Linked DNA regions of Homo sapiens: regions 2, 3 and 4 are each linked to region 1. Evidence: promoter capture Hi-C in 16 types of primary human blood cells and fetal thymus (Javierre and others, 2016). All regions are on one chromosome and are shown on one strand. The core of a region is centred on a gene start or on the middle of the fragment in contact, and the rest is flanking DNA. Distances in the headings are between cores, read along the strand shown.

Evidence for each region. Contacts are between HindIII fragments. The CHiCAGO score rates a contact against its expected background, and 5 or more counts as called.
Region 2: a fragment that was not itself captured here is called in contact with the fragment with the promoter of APBB1 in region 1 in 4 of 17 cell types (non-activated CD4 T cells, activated CD4 T cells, total CD8 T cells and 1 more); the score reaches 8.1 in non-activated CD4 T cells.
Region 3: a fragment that was not itself captured here is called in contact with the fragment with the promoter of APBB1 in region 1 in 5 of 17 cell types (activated CD4 T cells, naive CD8 T cells, naive CD4 T cells and 2 more); the score reaches 7.2 in activated CD4 T cells.
Region 4: a fragment that was not itself captured here is called in contact with the fragment with the promoter of APBB1 in region 1 in 1 of 17 cell types (fetal thymus); the score reaches 5.1 in fetal thymus.

Annotation. Positions count from the first base shown.
Region 1 is chr11:6,417,770-6,420,432 of GRCh38, forward strand. It overlaps APBB1 (amyloid beta precursor protein binding family B member 1), which reads right to left and starts at 1,325. Exons shown (of 15, transcript NM_001164.5): 1 at 1,216-1,325. RefSeq lists silencers at 1,093-1,282, 1,293-1,692. The HindIII fragment of the contact is 2,464 bases long and covers 266-2,663 here.
Region 2 is chr11:6,758,790-6,761,452 of GRCh38, forward strand. No RefSeq gene overlaps it. Among named protein-coding and RNA genes, the nearest start is that of OR2AG2, 12 kb to the right of the region's middle. The HindIII fragment of the contact is 3,754 bases long and covers 1-2,663 here.
Region 3 is chr11:6,723,525-6,726,187 of GRCh38, forward strand. No RefSeq gene overlaps it. Among named protein-coding and RNA genes, the nearest start is that of MRPL17, 42 kb to the left of the region's middle. The HindIII fragment of the contact is 3,986 bases long and covers 1-2,663 here.
Region 4 is chr11:6,699,151-6,701,813 of GRCh38, forward strand. The region is part of intron 3 of LOC124902625 (a long non-coding RNA gene); the gene reads left to right. Among named protein-coding and RNA genes, the nearest start is that of MRPL17, 17 kb to the left of the region's middle. The HindIII fragment of the contact is 534 bases long and covers 1,087-1,620 here.

The sequences.
Region 1 (2,663 bases), core at 75-2,574:
AGAGAGGGGTTAATCTCAAGTCTTGCTCATGACTCCAGATTGGCAAAGAGCCATTTTTGAGATTCGAAGGAAGAACAGATTTGGAAGTGGGGTACAGAGAAAACCACAGAAGATAATTTAGCTTGGAATCTATAGGTTTGGAACTCCTGTTTGTCTTTCAAGGAGATGTCAAGAGAGCAGCTGGACATATGAGTCTGGATTTCAGGAAAGAAGTCTGGGCTGGATATATAAATTTGGGAATCATTAGCATATATATGAAATTTGAAGCTTTGGGAGTAGATAAAATATCTGGGGAGAAAGAACAGATACTGAGAGAAGACAGCTCGGGACAGAGCCAAGAGCCTCACCAGCATCTAAAGAGAGGAGGAGAGGAAGCAAATGAGATTGAGAAGAGCAGACAATGCTGTAGGGCAGAAAGCAGGAAAATGCTTCAAGGAGAGTGAGTTGACATACCCCACCGAATACTACTCAAAGGTAAAGGAGATAACAGTGTCCACTGGAGTTCTCCACAAGGAGGTCTCCGGTGACCTTGGCCTAGACAGTTTCAGTGGGTGTCAGGGACACAGAGTGGAGTGCTTTTAAGAATGAATGGGAAGTAAGGAAATGAAGACAGCAAGCGTTGACTCTGAAGGGCGGAGAGAGCTGGGACTATAGCTAGAGGGGCTCAGAATGCAAGAGATACACAGGCCGATACAAAACAGGTTAGGAATTGGCAGTGGGAAAACTGCTTCTAATCAGTGTTCTTGGCAGTGCTAGGCCTCCTGGCTGAGCTGGGGACACAGCCGCCCCAGGGCACACCCCTCGGTCGCTGAGGGCAACAGAATGCGGCTTGACAGATCCAGGGCCTGGGACCCCTGCTGGAATCGGCGCGGCCTGCCAGCCCACCCCACCCCACGTCCCCTTCCCGGACCTGGGCCTCCCCTCCCCCAACACCCACTGCCCCTCGCTTCGCGTCCTCCATACCCGCCCCTAGTCACCCCGAGGGGCAGGAGGTAAAGGGCAGCGGAAGGGACGGTGTGAGGGCCCGAGTGGACCCTGCGATGGTGGGTATGAGAGGACGGTCTGCGGGCGCGCGGTGGAAGGGCGACCCGGGGATGGGGGATGGGGCCGGCCGGGGGACCCGGGCTGCCGCAGGGTAGGGGCTACAGGGTCCGCCGGCCGCTGGTGATCGGGACGCAGCCACCGGGGCTGGGCCGGGGCAGGGACACCTCCTACCTGCGCGGTGAGGCCCCGGGCCCAGATGACGGAGGTGGCTCAGGCTGCGGGGTTCGGGCTCCGCCGCGGCTTCTCCATCACAACATCCCCCGCCCAGGAGCGCGCGGGCCGCGGGGCCGCGCCCCGAGCGGCGGAGGCGCGCGCAAGGGGAGGGGGAGGGGCGCCATCTTGGGGCGGGCGCGGGAGCGAGCTCGGCGGGCGCGGCACTTGCCGCAGCTTCTTGGGGGCCTCACCCTGCGGGCGGCCCTCGGACCTCGGTGAGCCCCGCGGTCCAGCCCTCCCAGCAGACACCCCTGCAGCCGACTCCCTGGGACCCCCGCCTAGCGCGGCGCCGTCCTCCACTACTATTCCACAGACTCACCCTGCGCGCCCCGCAGCGCCCTGGTCCCGCACCCACGCCGGGAGACGCGCGGACGGGGCTGGAGCCCGAATGGCGGCGGCTGTGCGGCGCCGCGGCCGCGCGGGGAAGGATTCCCGGGAGGCACTCTGCGCCGCTCCTGCTGCACCGCTCCCTGACGTCCTGGTGGGGAGGCTCTGAGGACACAGCGTTGCTCATAATAATAGCTCGTATTTATTGACCACTTACACCGTGCCGGGCTCTCTATTAAACCGTTAACGCGCATTAATCTTCACATCAGCTCTGTAAAATCACCAGAATTATTATCCTCATTTTTCAGAGGCTGAGGCTAAGATTAAGAGAGGTAAAGCGACTTGCCCGCAGTCACAGTTAGTGATGAATTTAGACTGGAACTCCGATGTTTCTTGACACTGAAATACCTCTGCTGCTGAGCATAAAGCTGACATCAAGGCCTGGAAAATGTCAAGAATACATTGCTCCCCGGTAGAAATTCACAAGGAAGGGGATATTGTGAATGAAAAGTGTAAAGATGTAAGGAAGATGGTGGGGTGCAATACTTACTACAGACCCTCCCTGGATAGTGGGATACATCCCAATGGTCAGATCAGTGACCCAGAGGCCATCAAGGATAATGAGAGGTTATATTACCATCCAGAAAGCCTCTACATGCTAATCCCTCTCAGGTGCCTAAAACTAAAGATATCCAAATCTGAGTTCGTTCTTTCTTTCAAGGCAGGGTCTCACTCTGTCACCCAGGGGCAAGATCATGGCTCTCTGAAGCCTCAGCCTCCAGGGCTCAGATTCCTCCCGCCTCAGCCCCCGGAGTACCTGGGCCACAGACATGTGCCACCGCGCCTGGCTTTTTGTATTTTAGTAGAGAGGGGGTCTCACTGTGTTCCCCAGGCTGGTCTGGAACTCCTGTGTTCAAGCGATCCTCCCACCTCGGCCTCCCAAAGTGCTGAGATTACAGGCGTCAGACACAGTGTCCAGCCTCAATTTATTGTTTCATCCCCCTTTATTAGTCTTTTAAGGAGTTTCACTGGGGTGAAAAAGAACCCTCTTCAACACACACAACACAACACACATCCCA
Region 2 (2,663 bases), core at 44-2,543, 340 kb after region 1:
TCTTGTCTCAAGATTGGTAATTTAATCACATCTACAAAGTCCTTTTTGCCATCTAAGGTACCATGTACAGGTTCTGGGGAGTAGGAATGTGAACATCTTTGGGGGACATTTATTTATCAATAGCATACTCAAAGAGAGACTAGCCCTCAGTGAGTCAAATGACTACAAAACACGTGGCTAATCTTTTTTTAATAACTTTTTTAAGCTAAAATATAACAGTTATACAAATACTAAAAAATGCTCAGAATGTATATGTACAGCTCAATGAATCTGGCACAAGGCATACACACTCCAGTAACCACTATTCAGGTCAAGTTACAGAGCATTACCAACACCCCAGTATTCTTTCCTTATGCCCTCTTCTAATCACTATACCTTCACTCACTCCCCAAAAGCAGTTTAACACCATACATCAGTTATGTTTCTTAGACAGGCAATTGAAATGATACAATATGTATGTTTTGTGCCTGCCTTCCTTCACTCAATATTACGTTTGTAAGATTTATCCATGTTACTATATGGAGCTATTGTGGTTCATTTTCTTTTCTTTCTTTTTTTTTGAGAGTCTCGCCTTGTCACCCAGGCTGTAGTTCCTCTCTGTTCCATTGGTCTATATATCTGTTTTGGTACCAGTACCATGCTGTTTTTGTTACTTTAGCCTTGTAGTATAGTTTATAGCATTGTAGTATAGATTGCAATGGCACGATCTCGGCTCACTGCAAGCTCTGCCTCCCAGGTTCAAATGATTCTCCTGCCTCAGTCTCCTGAGAGCTGGGATTACAGGCGTCTGCCACCACGCCCAGCTAATATTTGCATTTTTTCAGTAGAGACAGGTTTTACCATGTTGGCCAGGCTGATCTCGAGCTCCTGACTGTGTGATCTGCCTGCCTCAGCCTCCCAAAGTGCTGGAATTACAGGTGTGAGCCACTGCGCCTGGCCTCGTAGTTCATTTTCTTTGTTGTATAATGCATTGTATGACTAGATCACAGTTTATTTATCCTTTATGCTGATGAACAAACATGTGGGTTGTTTTCAGCTTTGGGGTATTTTAAACAGTGTTGCTATAAATAGTTTTGCACATGTCTTTTGGTGCACATATACACACATTTCTGTCAGGCATATACAACAAGTAGAATTGCTTGGTTATGGCATATACATATCTTCAACTTCAGTAGAGAATACCAACCAGTTAAAAAAATTTTTTTATTATACTTTAAGTTCTAGGGTACAGTGCAGAACGTGCAGTTTTGTTACATAGGTATATACATGCCATGGTGGTTTGCTGCACCCATCAACCCGTCACCTACCTTAGGTATTTCTCCTAATGCTATCCCTCCCCCAGTCCCCCACCCATGACAGGCCCCAGTGTGTGATACCTCCCTATGTCCATGTGTTCTCATTGTTCAACTCCCACTTATGAGTAAGAACATGCGGTGTTTGGTTTTCTGTTCTTAGTTTGCTGAGAATGATGGTTTCCAGCATCATCCATGTCCCTGCAAAGGACATCGTTTTCATGGCTGCATGGTATTCCATGGTGCATATGTGCCACATTTTCTTAATCCAGCCTATCACTGATGGGCATTTGGGTTGGTTTCAAGTCTTTGCTATTGTGAATAGTGCTGCAATAAACATACATGTGCACGTGTCTATACAGTAGAATAATTTATAATCCTTTGAGTATATACTCAGTAATGGGATTGCTGGGTCAAATGGTATTTCTGGTTCTAGATCTTTGAGGACTCATCACATTGTATTCCACAATCATTGAACTAATTTACACTCCCACCAACAGTGTAAAATTGTCCCTATTTCTCCACATCCTCTTCAGCATCTGTTGTTGCCTGGCTTTTTAATGATCACCATTCTAACTGGGGTGAGATGGTATCTCATTGTGGTTTTGATTTGCATTTCTCTAATGACCAGTGATGATGAGCTTTTTTTCCTACGTTTGTTGGCTGCATAAATGTCTTCTTTTGAGAAGTGTCTGTTCATATCCTTCATCCACTTTTTGATGGGGTTGTTTTTTTTCTTGTAAATTTGTTTAAGTTCTTTGTAGATTCTGTATATTAGCCCTTTGTCAGATGGATAGATTGCAAAAATTTTCTCCTATTCTGTAGGTTGCATGTTCACTCTGATGATAGTTTCTTTTGCTGTGCAGTAACTCTTTAGTTTAATTAGATCCCATTTGTCAATTTTGGCTTTTGTTGCCATTGCTTTTTGTGTTTTAGTCATGAAGTCTTTGCCCATGCCTATGTCCCGAATGGTATTGCCTAGGTTTTCTTCTAGGGTTTTTATGGTTTTAGGTCTAACATTTAAGTCTTTAATCCATCTTGAATTAATTTTTGTATAAAGTGTAAGGAAGGGGTCCAGTTTCAGTTGTCCGCATATGGCTAGTTTTCCCAACACCTTTTATTAAACAGGGAATCCTTTCCCCATTACTTGTTTTTGTCAGATTTGTCAAAGATCAGATGGTTGTAGACATGTGGTGTTATTTCTGAGGCCTCTCTGTTCCATTGGTCTAGATATCTGTTTTGGTACCAGTACCATGCTGTTTTTGTTACTTTAGCCTTGCAGTATAGTTTAAAGTCAGGTAGCATGATGCCTCCAGCTTTGTTCTTTTTGTTTAGGATTTTCTTGGCCATGCGGCCTCTTTTTTGGTTCCA
Region 3 (2,663 bases), core at 92-2,591, 310 kb after region 1:
GCAGAAACAACAAGAACAACAACAAAACAACAAATACATGTAGAAAGTACAAATACAAGTAGAAAAAGAGTTTACCTTTAAAAACCTAACAGAGAGCTGATTTCTGAACAGCTATAGTGGAAGCCAAAAGAGAGTAGAATGGAGTATTTATTTCACTGAAAGAAAATATCAGACACAAATTTTATGTATAGTGAGATATTCTTAAAGAATGATCGTGGAAAAGGGACATTTACAACAAAAATTAAAGACTTACAGTTGCAAGATTATGGCATAGGGGCAAGCTGGCTTTACTGTCCCCACTCAGAAAACCAAAAACAAATATATAGCACTGAAATTTTTACCATCAATAACCCAGAGCTCAAGTATGAGGATGAGGCAGTTCCCAGGACCACACAGAAGTGGGAAAACTCTGAGCAGATGGTAAGAGAATCAAATTTCCACATCTGTAATGACCCTACACATTATTCTCTTTGGTACTAAGAACATAGAAAATCTCCCCTGACACCCAACTCAAAGTTTCTACACTGGAACAGGTGAAATTGAGGTGGTCAGTCAGCTTTCCCACTTTCTTGAGTCCCCTGTAAGTTGACCTGTCTTTGCCTTAACCCACAGGAAGCATCATGACTACCTAAAGGGATAAATATCCCTGAGGACAAGCAAAGACAAAGGGAGGAAGTGAGAATATCATCCACATCCTAGGGAATTCTGCTCTGTAACTTGGCCAAAGGAGATGCCAAATCAGAGTGGCTGTTTAGCAGCAGCACATTGTAGGAGGTATGTTCCATAGGTGCCCTGGGCATGAACCATTAGCCAGCCTTCCCACATTGCTGAGATAATCCTTTTGAGACCTCCCCCATTCAGGACAGGCAACGCTATAATCATTTACCAGAGCCGAGGTGAACTTAGGCTTAAGGCACCACCTAGACTGAAAAAGGAGGCAGCAATCTAGTGGTAAATATTCACTAAATAAATATACTAAATAAAAACCAGAACAAGCCAAAGAAAGAAAACTGGAATAAATAACTTCTCCTTCAATGCAAAGGCATTGGCACATGCCCACAAGAAACAACAACAATCAGGGAGCCATTACCTCCACAGAAAGACTAAGCAAAAATCCAGTGACTGACTCTAATGAGATAGTGATCTGTGAATTCTCTGCCCAAGAGAAACTCAATTATCTCAAAGGTAAAGCAGTTCAGAAGCATGTCAGAAAGTGTAACAAAGAGATTGAAACAATAATTAAAAAAAATTAAACAAAAATATTGGAACTGAGACATACGTTTGCTGAAACAAAGAACCCTTTAGAGGCTCTCAACACCAGAATGAACTAAGCAGATGAAGGAATCAGTGAGCTCAAAGACTGGCTATTTGAAAGTAGATAGTCTGATGAGAAAAAATAATGAAAAGGAACAAAGACTGCCTGCAAGATATAGAAAATTACCTCAAGGGACCAAAGGTAAAAATTGTTGCTGTTCAAGAGGGAGCTGAGCAAGAGTAAGAGAGTAAGTGGTAGAAGGCTTATTTAAAAAAAAACCCAAAAAACAAAAACAGGATGGGCATGGTGGCCCACACCTGGTAATCCCAGCAATTTGGGAGGCTGAGGTGGGTAGATTGCTTGAGCTCAGGAGTTTTAAGCCAGCCTGAGCAGCATGGCCAGGCCCTGTTTCTACAGAAAAATTCAAAAATTAGCTGAGCGTGGTGGTATGTGCCTGTGGTCTCAGCTACTTGGGAAGCTGAGGTGGGAGGATCTCTTGAGCCTGGGAGATGGAGGTTGCAGTGAACATGATCATGCCACTGTACTGTAGTCTGGGTGACAGAGTGAGACCCTGCCTCAAAATAAATAAATAAATATATAAAGATATATATAAATATAAATATATATATAAATATAAAGGAAAACTTTCTGAAACTTGAGAAAGATATACATATCCTGGTACAGAAAGGTCTGAGAACATCAAACATTCAATCCATATGAGACTACTCCAAGGCATACGACTTTGAAAAGGTCAAAGACAAAGAAAGGATTGTAAAAGCAGAAAAAAAAGCAAAAGCAAATAACATATGAAGAAAGTCCAATTCATCTGGCAACAGAGTTCTTGTTGGATGCCATATAGGTCAGGAGGGAATGGAGTGACATTTTCAAAATGCCCAAAGACAGAAAACTCCCACCCAGGAATTCTAAATCCAGCAAAAATACCCTTTAAATATGAAGGAGAGATAAAGTCTTTCCTAGACAAACAAAATCTGGGCGAATTCACCACCACCAGACCTATCTTGCAAGTAATACTTAAGGGAGTTCTTCAATCTGAAAGAAAAAACACTAATGTGGAAAGATAAACTTTTCAAGATATAAAATTCACTGGAAAAATTAAGTAAACGGACAAACCAAGAATACTCCATTACTATAATTGTAGTGTGCAATTCACTTAACATGCTAGTATGAAGCCCAAAAGACAAATCTATCAAAAATAATAGATCCTGAATCAAAGACCAGAGGAAAAATATAGGTATAGCAACCTATTAAAAGATAGATGATATTAAAATATGTAAATTGAGACAACCAAAAGTCAAAATATGGGGACATGGAGTTAAAATGTAGAATTTGTTGTTTTTTTTTGGTTTGTTTATATTCTTTTATATGTAGTCTAAGTTGTCATCTTTTA
Region 4 (2,663 bases), core at 104-2,603, 280 kb after region 1:
CGGTGGCTCACACCTGTAATCCCAACACTTTGGGAGGCTGAGGCGGGTGGATCATGAGGTCAGGAGTTCAAGACCAGCCTGGCCAACATGCTGAAACCCCGTCTCTACTAAAAATACAGAAAGCTGGGCATGATGGTGCACATCTGTAATCCCAGCTAGTCAGGAGGCTGAGGCAGGAGAATCACTTGAACCCAGGGGGCAGAGGTTGCAGTGAGCTGAGATCGCACCACTGCACTCCAGCCTCCGTCTCAAAACCATACCAAGCCCCTACATTCATAGGGCTTATATTCTAGGAACGCTCTCTTCAAACTTAGGTATGCACACTGTGGGGGTTGATGGGACTTTCTAGGAGATACACATGTATAGATAGTTTTACAGTAATTTCTTTCAGGTCCTCAACATCCATATGTTTCTTTTCCAAAATTGATCTGCCCAAGAATATGTCTATTGTAGAAATAGCATTGTTATTCTTCTTTCCCACCTCCGCTTACACATTGACCCTTCACTCATTTTAAAAAAGAAAGCTATTCTTCTTGCCCATTTTCAATCTTATGGCACATTGTCCTGAATAAAAAATCCAAGGGGTAAAACAGAGGAACAAATCAAAATATTGGTGTATATGAAGCCTCCTTTTCCTTGCTTATACGTTTCTGTTAAGAAAAAAAATGTGGCATTAGAAATGGTATTTTTGTCTCTTCTAAATCTTCTTATGTAAAAAAGAAAAAAAAAGAAATGGTATTTTTGGCTCATGATAGACTATACTAAAACCAGATATGTTGTAGTAAGGACAGCAAGAATAATAATTTTTGTTGAATGATTTCATCTCTTTTGACTGCTGACAATTGCTAAACCAAACCAACAAACAAAAACATCATTCCTAAAGGAAAGTTCTGTTAAGAAAATCATAGAGATTACTGTTAAGAAGTAGTGAAGGTGATACTAATTTAATTCATATGACAAATTTTTGGCAACATCACTTACCCATAATTAGAATATTCAAGATTTATAAAAATCATGCTGGGAAATGTAACATACATTCTATAACATGTATCCTTTGCATTTGCATAAATTTCACAAATGAGAAAAAGCTTAATGAGTATTTTTGTTCACTTAGGTCCAGGTGCATATTTCATAAAATTTCAGTAATTAGAAGAAGAAATTTTATGTTTGCTTCTACCACTTTATTTTTATTTATTTATTTACTTAGAGACAGAATCTGGCTCTGTTGCCCAGGCTGGAGTGCAATGGTGCCATCTCCGCTCACTGCAACCTCCGCCTCCCGGGTTCAAGCAATTCTCTTGCCTCAGTCTCCCAAGTAGCTGGGATCACAGGCACCCGTCACCACACCTGGCTAGTTTTTGGATTTTTAGTAGAGACGGGGTTTTGCCATGTTGGTCAGGCTGGTCTCGAACTCCTGACTGACCTCAGGTGATCTGCTTGCCTCAGCCTCCCAAAGTGCTGGGATTACAGGTGTGAGCCACTGCACCTGGTCTGCTTCTACCACTTTAATGTTACATGTAAGAGAAAAAACAATATATATTGGAAGTAAGTTAACCATGTACATTTATTCAAACTCATGGGAGAAACATTTTTATTAGCTTTTTTTTTTTTTAAAAAAAAAGCTTTATTGAGCTAAATTCACATACCAGAAAGTTCTTCCATTAGCTTTTGATAGAGGTTGGGGTCCTATAAATATGTATTTATTTTTACCCTCGCTCATGACTTACTTGTTACTCTTCAACCAATTTTCTTGTAATTTATTCATTCCTATCATCGATTTAAGAAATTTAGATTAGCTTTATTTGAATATTTGGTTAATTCTATTGTAAAAATCCTTCTGTAACAATAATTAATACACGTTTTAAGCCCCTGCACTTCTAAGCAGCCCAGTACCTTTACTTTTTGCTCTTAATCTCTACTAAACCCAGTCACATTTTAACATTGGGTATTTTATTCATTTAAGGATAAGGGAACTAATTAAAAAAAAACTTGCCCTGTTCTTGTCTTTAGAAGATGTATTTTAATAAAAAAGTACTCTTTCTATTTAAGAATTATTTATCACAGATTTGTAAAATACTTTGTTTCGCTTAGTTCTATACTATAAAACTGAAATGGTAACTAAACCTGTAAGAAATCAGTTGAAATTTACATTTCAAATTTATACGCATATTTTGTGGCCCAAGTCATGTATGCTACTCTTATAACTGACAAAGGGGTTGTGGACAGAATATGTAAAGGACTCCTAGAAAATCAACACAAGATAAAAATGGGTGAAAAACTTGAGTAGGCATTTTATGAAAGTGAATATTCAAATAGCCAATAAAGGACAAAAATGTAAAACTTCATTATTAATTAAGGAAATACATATTAAAACCATATTGAAATAGTACTATATACTCCAGAATGGCTAAAGTTAAAAAGACTTTCTGATAAAATTAAGTCTTGGTGAGTATGAGAAGCAACTGGAATTCTCATACATTTCTGATAAAGGCATAAATTGCAACATACACTTTGAAAGCTGGTTGGTACTCTTTACAGAAGTTGAAAATGTATATGCTACAACCCAGAAATCCTACTCCTAGTATATACACACATGCCTAATGGAAATGTGTATATATGTGCACCAGAAGGTATGCAACAATGCTTATAGCAAAACTATTTAA